Regions from separate parts of the Homo sapiens genome. Here region 1 is linked to region 2. The links are contacts of gene promoters, found by promoter capture Hi-C in human tissues and cell types (Jung and others, 2019). All regions are on one chromosome and are shown on one strand. Each heading gives the region's core, a stretch centred on a gene start or on the middle of the fragment in contact. The rest is flanking DNA. Distances are from core to core; before and after follow the strand shown. Region 1 has its middle 60 kb from the start of LINC01377. Region 2 holds the start of IRX2 (iroquois homeobox 2).

What was found. The method cuts DNA at HindIII sites, captures the fragments that hold promoters and counts their contacts. A contact is called where the count stands out against the background at its distance.
Region 1: a fragment that was not itself captured here is called in contact with the fragment with the promoter of IRX2 in region 2 in 1 of the 25 tissues and cell types used here (H1 embryonic stem cells).

The regions. Positions count from the first base shown.
Region 1 is chr5:3,115,648-3,119,509 of GRCh38, forward strand. No RefSeq gene overlaps it. Among named protein-coding and RNA genes, the nearest start is that of LINC01377, 60 kb to the right of the region's middle. The HindIII fragment of the contact is 3,440 bases long and covers 1-3,241 here.
Region 2 is chr5:2,749,592-2,753,384 of GRCh38, forward strand. It overlaps IRX2 (iroquois homeobox 2), which reads right to left and starts at 2,086. Exons shown (of 4, transcript NM_033267.5): 1 at 1,574-2,086; 2 at 1-196. The coding sequence starts at 1,822. It overlaps IRX2-DT (IRX2 divergent transcript), which reads left to right and starts at 2,302. Exons shown (of 4, transcript NR_122126.2): 1 at 2,302-2,873; 2 at 3,089-3,163; 3 at 3,694-3,764. RefSeq lists enhancers at 1-115, 2,201-3,125. The HindIII fragment of the contact is 21,259 bases long and covers 1-3,793 here.

The DNA.
Region 1 (3,862 bases), core at 272-2,771, 370 kb after region 2:
ATTTATGCTAATTTCATCAAGGTGTGAAAAGATCTTTTTCTTGCATATACATGAAAGAACCATATTACTATTCAATTGGCTTTTTTCCTCTCTTTTTAACCCAAGAAAAGCTTGTTGTGACTTAACAAAAGAGAAGGCAGAAATACTACAAAAACACAATCTAGAAAAAGCCTTACGTGAAGCTCTTACATTCTTTTTTTTTTTAACTTTTAAATTTCATGTTGTAAATGTAACAGTCCTCCTAGAAATATGAGTGCACAATAGCGGGAGAAATGCCACTTTACATGTGTGTGCACCGAGATCACAATCAGACACTTGACATCTTAGGAGTTCAAGATTGCATCCTAAAATGCCATCTACCATATTATTATCTCTGCCATTTACATAATTTAGGTTTTTCTCCAGGACGGGAAAAACATGCTACATAGCATTCAATAGCATTTCCCAACCCTACTGCATCTCACCGATTTGTCTACTAAGGATGTATGAAGACATCTTCAAAATTGGTCCTCATGTTCATATATATATAATCACATATATATCTCATATATGTTCACAGGCATATCAAAGTGAACTTGCAGTATAGGGGCAAACATAATCTGTCCCGACTGCAGACAGCCTGAAAGCCATCGCCCTGGCATAGGAAACTAGAGGCTTCTGGTGGGGGGTCACTGCCCCGGAGAAGTCCTCTGGTCCGGTCCACGGTGCTCCCTGCTTCCCCCTGCACTGCCCGCACCTACGGCAGCCACAGTCTCCCCAAAACTCTTGTGATGGCTCCACAAGGCATGCCCTGCCCTTATGATACCATTTAATCGTGTTATAAGGCGGCCTGGCGCGAGCTTGTCGCGAGGGCAGATTGCGCGGCCCGTATAGATTTGCTGTCATCCTGTAGGCTTCCCACACAAGACAGAGGCCTGGTGACGCACAGCGGGAACCCGGGGCTTGCAGGGTTAAGTACTCCCTGCCTCCTGGCTGGGGGTTCCACTAGCATCCGCAGGCGGGCGGGACTGGGCCCCATCCCTCACAGTGCCGATGACACGATGGATCTCGCCTGTCACTGTCATTACAGTCAGCTTCACTCCACCGCCGATAAGAAGGCCACTCCCCTAAGCACGGAGAAGGCAGATATTTTTCTACCTAATTTTAGGGAAAGAGCTCTTACAGGTGTCCTTTCAGCAGGATTTGAGATGTCTCACTCTGATCGCACATCCAGGAGGCAGAAGACTCCTATCACTCCATAAATTAATTTCAGTCCTTTAGACTGGAAATATACTATCTGTGCATTTTATTGGAAAACACCAACACTTCTAAAAGGCAGCCTTTCAAATTTTGAAGCGTGGAGGTAAAACTTTTAGAGTGTAGCCTTTTGGAGGTATTTATGAAACCTTAAATATGCTCACACACTCATTCTGGACGGTATCTTGAAAATTGCTTCATTTGTTTTGTTCGGTGATCAAAACAGCCAGGCATTCTTTTAGAATGAGCAGCAGGGGAAAGCATTGAAGTTATCTCAGCAGGATTGAATCTAACTTTTATCGTGTTGAGACTCATGTGCAAACTACAGTGTTTGTCTCACCTATGACACTGTCAGGGAGAGGGCAGGGTAATTGATCCCCCCCCAAATGTGGAGTGCAATAAGGATGTCTTATTCCCTACATACAAAAGGGAACTTCTTGTGATGGCTGTGTTAACAGGAGCCTATGCCGTGGCTGAGTGTAGGGATAGTGTGGAAAATGCAGTGGAGAGCCACCTCCTAGGGCTGGAGATGCCAACATCACACTAGTAAGTCCCTGTCATTCTGCATCATCAATGCTGTCTAAGGGAAGGAGGAATGTTTATTTTCTGCACGTCGCTGCACTTCCAAAAGATACAGTTTTCAGCATGTGCTTCTGAATGCTTTCTTTAAAAATTCAAATATTTTTGCAAGTCAGCTGGGAGTAAGGAGTGAGATCTGGGCTGTTAGAGCTATCAGAGAGAGGGAGCGAGAGAGAGAGAGAGAGAGAGAGAGAGAGAGAGAGAGAGAGAGAGAGAGAGAGAGAGGGAGAGAGAGAGACCCATTAAACTTCCCCAGAGTTTACTGATTACCCCATCACTTAAAGACAACAACAAAAATTGTTCTACCAATGTTTCCAACAAGCTTCGTTTTGAAGTTTTAATCAGGTCTAAATGGAAAGTGATTGAGAATGGCGTGGTCTGCATTTTAATCCCTGGAAACGCTCCCCGCCCCCAAGTCTTTGGCTGTGTGGCGTGTAGTGTGGCCTTGGGTTTCTGAGTGTTTCTAACATACATAATGAGCTCAATGTCAAGCTGTTGGATCTTTTGTCTTTAACAATAAGCATTTAGCTCAACTAAATGAATAGAAATTGCTTTAGTGAATTACAAAAGCCAAGGTCTTTTTAATGCACCAATGATGACATTAATTATTTTCGACATTGTCTTATTTTTGCAAATGTATTAACTTAAAATTTGACTTAAAATGTAATAAATTCATTTACTGTTCCAATTAAAAATGTGAAACATTCTTAGTAAATCAAAATGTCTGCTGATGGCGATGACAATCCTCCCGATAAAAAATAAACAGTCTGAGTGCATCACCGAATTCATGATTCATGTGATTACGAATCTAACATAGCATCAGCACTGTCTACTTTTCCCTGTTTGAAAAGCAGTTAGGTGGCCAAGTTATAATGGGCCCCCAGCACTGCTGTGCTTCCTAAAGGGAGCTTGCCCATGGTAGGACCAGTTTCCCAACACTGCCAAACAACGGGGCCAATTTCCCTGCAAAGAGAGACCAGCATTCAAAAAGTTGCAGTGATCCGTCCTCCAGCACCCCCTCCACCCTCCTTCTGCAGTTGCCCGGAGAGATCTGAATGTCTTTTCCTAAATCTCTGTAATCCAATAAGCTTTTGTGTTTAGCAGCTTGTTTTGAAGGCTGTGCGGCACCCCAACCCAGGTCTCCGCAAGGCCCTCGGCAGGCAGGTGAGCGCCCCGGGGCCTGAGCGCTACGCCGGGCGAGAGGCCCGCGCAGCCCCAACCAGAACGTAATTTGTAATTAACTGTCATTTACTTCTGTCTGCATTGACTTGTTGTTCAAAAGACAATGCAACTGGGCTGGTCACTCATTTCCCTTTGTTGTGGATATAATGTCTCTGAGATCTGGTTGTTTTCATAATGTTTAGAAACTCAGGGCTTACTCTCTTGAAACCAGAAGGAGAAGGGGAATTCGCTGAAATAAATCCAACACAAATAATTTGTTATGCCGAGGTACATCAAACATTCTATTTGATGAAATGGGATAAACCATCTTACAGAAGAACCACATACAGTTTAAGCCAGATAATTCAAATGACTGGAGTGAGTGTTCTCCCGAAGCACATCTTTTAAAATGCAGTCTTCAAAAGGCGATCTGTTCTGTAGCTGTAGACTCTAATTTATGCTCTCTTTTCAGTTTAATTATTTGCTTGTCACACTTTTCATTAGCAGAAAAATAAACAGAATGTGTGATAGGCCTTGGATTGGGGGTCCGTGTTTCCAAGATTGACAAGTAATTCCAAGTTTAACTACTTGGAAATTAACAAAGCTTAGCTTCCATTTGAACAGAAAAGACTGGGAAAGTATTAAGAGGTTTTAAAAGCAAAAACATCAGATATTTTTGCAATTCGATCCCTAACAAATGCCCTGCTCATTCTTCCATATTTTGGGGGATTATAATAGTCTTGAGGGAGAGTAAATAGCTCATCTTAAACATTTAAAATTTTTACTTAAACATCTCAAATCTTACTGCAAACAGGAATGTCTGGAGGTTTAGAGTGCTCTGCAGTATTTTTCCTTTCACTCTCTCGTTGCTATATAGTGGCATCCA
Region 2 (3,793 bases), core at 836-3,335:
TGATCTTCTCGCCCTTGGTGGGGTAGGGGTTCTTGCGGTGCTCGTTGAGCCAGGCCTTGAGAGTGGCCGTGGCGTCCCGCGTGGCGTTCTTGCGGTACGCGGGGTCGTTGAGCTGGTACGGGTAGGCCGCGCTGCCGTACGGGTGGTAGCTGATGGCGCCGGTCATGCCGGTGGTGTGCGCGTCGTAGGGTGCGCCCTGGAACCAACAAGAGCCTGTGAGTGGAGTATGCGGAGACCCCGCGGGCAACCAGCCAGAGGATGCCACCCCTCCGCCCGCCCACGGCCACCGTTCCCCCCGTGAGTCTGGCTCTGGGGCTGCGCTTCCCGCCGCAAAAGAGCAGGAAAAACGCAGTGTGATTCGGGACCAGCTGTTGATCACAAAAAGTACCGGAGTTTTATTCTCGAATTTCTGAACTATTTCACTTTCCTAAAATGACCCATCTTCCCCTAAGTGTTCCGGAGCCGCTCGTGGCAATGTACACAAACCCTTGCACGTGCGCGCACACAGGCCCACAGGTAGCTCTTTGATATCTAAATTTCTGCAGATGCTTGGAGTGCGGCTGCCTCCCCCTACTCCCTCTTCCCCTCCCTTATATGGTTAAAAAAACACCCCAGAGCCCCCAATTCACTATTCACTGCTCTAAAGCTGGGCAAATCCAATTTGCAACTCAGAAGCCAGTCACCGTTTCGAATTCTTCAAATACGCCGTAATTAGCATTTTAATTCATCCTTTAACGTTTAAATTCGAGGCATTTGCAGCCTTCGCCAAGGCCCCAGCGACTCGGTCGCTGCCCAGAAATTCCGCCGAGGGCCGGCAGTCGCGACAACCCCGTAATGGCCTCAATCGCCCGTAACGTGCTTCGCCGCGGCCCGGGCCTGGCCCAGCTCAGTAACCTCGAGACTCGCGAGCCGCCCCCAGGTCGCCGGAGCAGGAGCTGCGCTCGGGCCACGGAGGACTCAGGCGGCCCTTAGCGGGTCACGCGCCCGCAAGCACGATATTTGAAAGCATGGTCCGCTGGACAGAGTAAGGCCGAAACCTGGGCGCCTCGGGCCGGACTCCGGAGCCGCAGCTGAATGCTCGGCTCCTGGGCCTAACTCGGTGACCCCCACCGCCCTGAGCCCCGCGAGTGAATGCGAACCGCCCGGCCGTCGGCTCAGAGGCCGCAGTGACGCGGACCCTCGCGCCCCACGCCAATGCAGGCGAGCACACAGCCCGCTCCGAACGCCTCCCCAGGCTGCGGTGCGGAAACCAGGGACAAACGGCGCCAGACCCCGGCCCCGGCGGAGACGCACTTCCCAGGCTCTCAGAGAAAATCAGCCGGCGAGCCGAGGGGACGCGCGGGGGGCGCGCGGGTCCCGGCCGGGCTCAGGGACGTCCCCGCCTGCCGCGCTGCCCTCCCCACCCGGGGCCCGGCTCAGCCTGCGGGGCGGCCAACCGAGCCGGCGACTCCTGAGTCGCCAGCCGCGCCACATTCCCGGCGGCCCCCGCCCGCCGAACCCGAGCCCCGCTCCGCCTGAGCCCCGTCTGGGTCCCGGCGCCCAGGAGTCCCGCGTCCCGCCCGCGCCCGGTTACCATGTAGGACGGGAAGCCGGCGGCGGCGGCGGCGGCGTCGGCCGAGTACTGCAGCGGGCTCCCGAAGCCGGTGGCCGCCTGCGCCGTGAAGGCCGCCGAGCCCGGGTAGGGGCTGAACGCCGAGCCCGACGCCGAGCGCGCCAGCTCCTCGCTGCGCGGAGCCGCCAAAGCCGACGCGCCGTAGGCCGGGCACGAGTAGAGCGCCAGCGAGCCGGGCGCCTGGTACAGGTAGCCCTGCGGGTAGGACATGGTGGGCGCGGGGCGCGGGGCCCGCGTCACGCCGAGCAGCGGGCAGGGCGCGCGGCGCCCTCCATCCACGCCCGGCCGGGGCGCGGCGCGGCGGCGGGCACCCGGACGGCCGGCGGAGGCAGGCCGGCCCGGGTACTAGCCTGGGCGGCCCGCGGGCCGGGGCGGCGGCGGGGTGGCGGTGGCGGCGGCAGCAGCGCGGAGCCGGTGGGCGCAGCCGCGCGCCAGGCCGGCGGTCGGGGTTTGGGGGAGTCTGGAGTCGGGAGTGAGGAGTTGAGGAAGGAGCGCTCGAGTTTCCGAGGGACATTGGAACGCGCAGCTGTCCATCACGCGCTCATCTGCATATTCGGGGGCCCGCCCCTCCCCTGCTCCGCCCGCTGCAGCCTCCGGGCCGCGGCCGGGGGAGGGGCAGAGAGACGGGAGGGAGGCGGGGGAGGGCGGAGGCGACGGAGGCGGGCGGCGGGAGGGACCGGCAGGCTTTTGTGGCGCAGCCGCCTCTCTAGCAGCTCCGGCCCCAGCCCGCGGCTCGCGGACCTGCAGCCCAGCCCGGCCGCGCTGCGTGCCCCGGCGCGCACCCCTCCCACTCCCATCCACTCGGAGCCACGTCCCCTGCCCGGCTCCGGCCGGCTCCCACCGTCCCCGGCCACCGTCTTCGCCCCTGCCCGGCCCCCGCCCCTTCCAGCCACTACCCCGCCCCCACCCCCTTCTCCACCCTCACGGACTAGGCAGAGGCCGCCCGCGGTCAGGCCAGGCCGGGTCCAATTAGGGGACTCACAGCCTGCCCCGCTGTGCACCCCGAGGAGGCCCGGCCCCTGTGTCCAATCCGGAAGTCGCAGGGAAGTGGGGAGGTCAGGATGGTGGCGCCCGCGGCTCGGGTCTTCCTCCGGGCAGTGCGCGCGGCTCTCACTTCCACGGTCCCGGACCTGCTCTGCCTCCTGGCCCGAGGCTCCCCGCGTGGCCTCGCGTCTGGTCGCCTACCCCTCGCGGTCCACTCCGCCCAGCATGGACCTGGATCCGGGGCGCCTTGGTTGCGAATTGCCAGGAGGGCCCTGAGGTGAGCTTTCTGCCCCCAAATCCGCAGCGCAACCCCCGGGGCCCTGAACGTTACGACTTTCCACTGTTGGGAATGACGCCAGGGCTTCAGCTAAGAAGACGCCGTCCCCTAAAGAGTTTTATTTTATTTTGTTTTTCTAAGTTGACTCCTCTTTCAGATTTGTGTTGTCAAAACACTGGGGGGATGATTGTTACCTGACAAACCGCCTCTGGCAGGACCTGAAGCCTCCCAGTCACGTCGAGAACGGGCAGGAGCTCAGGTTGGCGCCGCCGGTGCAGTGGGCATTACAGGTAGCTCAGGTGACGCGCGGCTGGAGTAGGGGGGCGGTTGCCTTGCGGGGCTCAGAAGCGAGGCGGTTGGCGAGGGTTCCTAGGACCCCAGCTTCCTAGAACCCTCTCCCCATCACGCTTCTCCAACCCTTTTCCACTCGGGGATGGCCGAAGAGGGCGTCTGGCTGCCCACTCCGAAGGGTCACCTATGGGGGGCGCTCAGGGGGATGGAAGAGTGTCAGGTCTGTGCTGGCCTATTGGGAGCACCCACCCAGCAGGTGCCTCTATCCTCGGAAGCCGTCTCGGGTGGGTGCGGTGGAGAAGAGAGAGCGCAGTGGCCTGGGGCGGGCCTCAGCTCAGGCCTGCAGCCGACTCCTGCACCCCTGCTGGCCCTGCAGCCTGCGGAGCAGCCTTAGTGATCTCAGGACGCAGGGCATGTTGCGGCCTCCCTGTGGTGCGGCTGCAGCGGCGCGGAGGGAGCGGAGCCCGGGTTGCCAGTCTGGTCCAGGGCGCAAGAGAAACACTCACGGCATCAGGCTGTCTTTCCCCAGGTGCAAGGGAACCAGTTGCAAACTGCAGTGCTGTGCTTGAGGATGGCTCCTCCTGAGCCGGCAGGCTCCCGGTAGGCGCGGTCCAGGCACGTTACCCCTC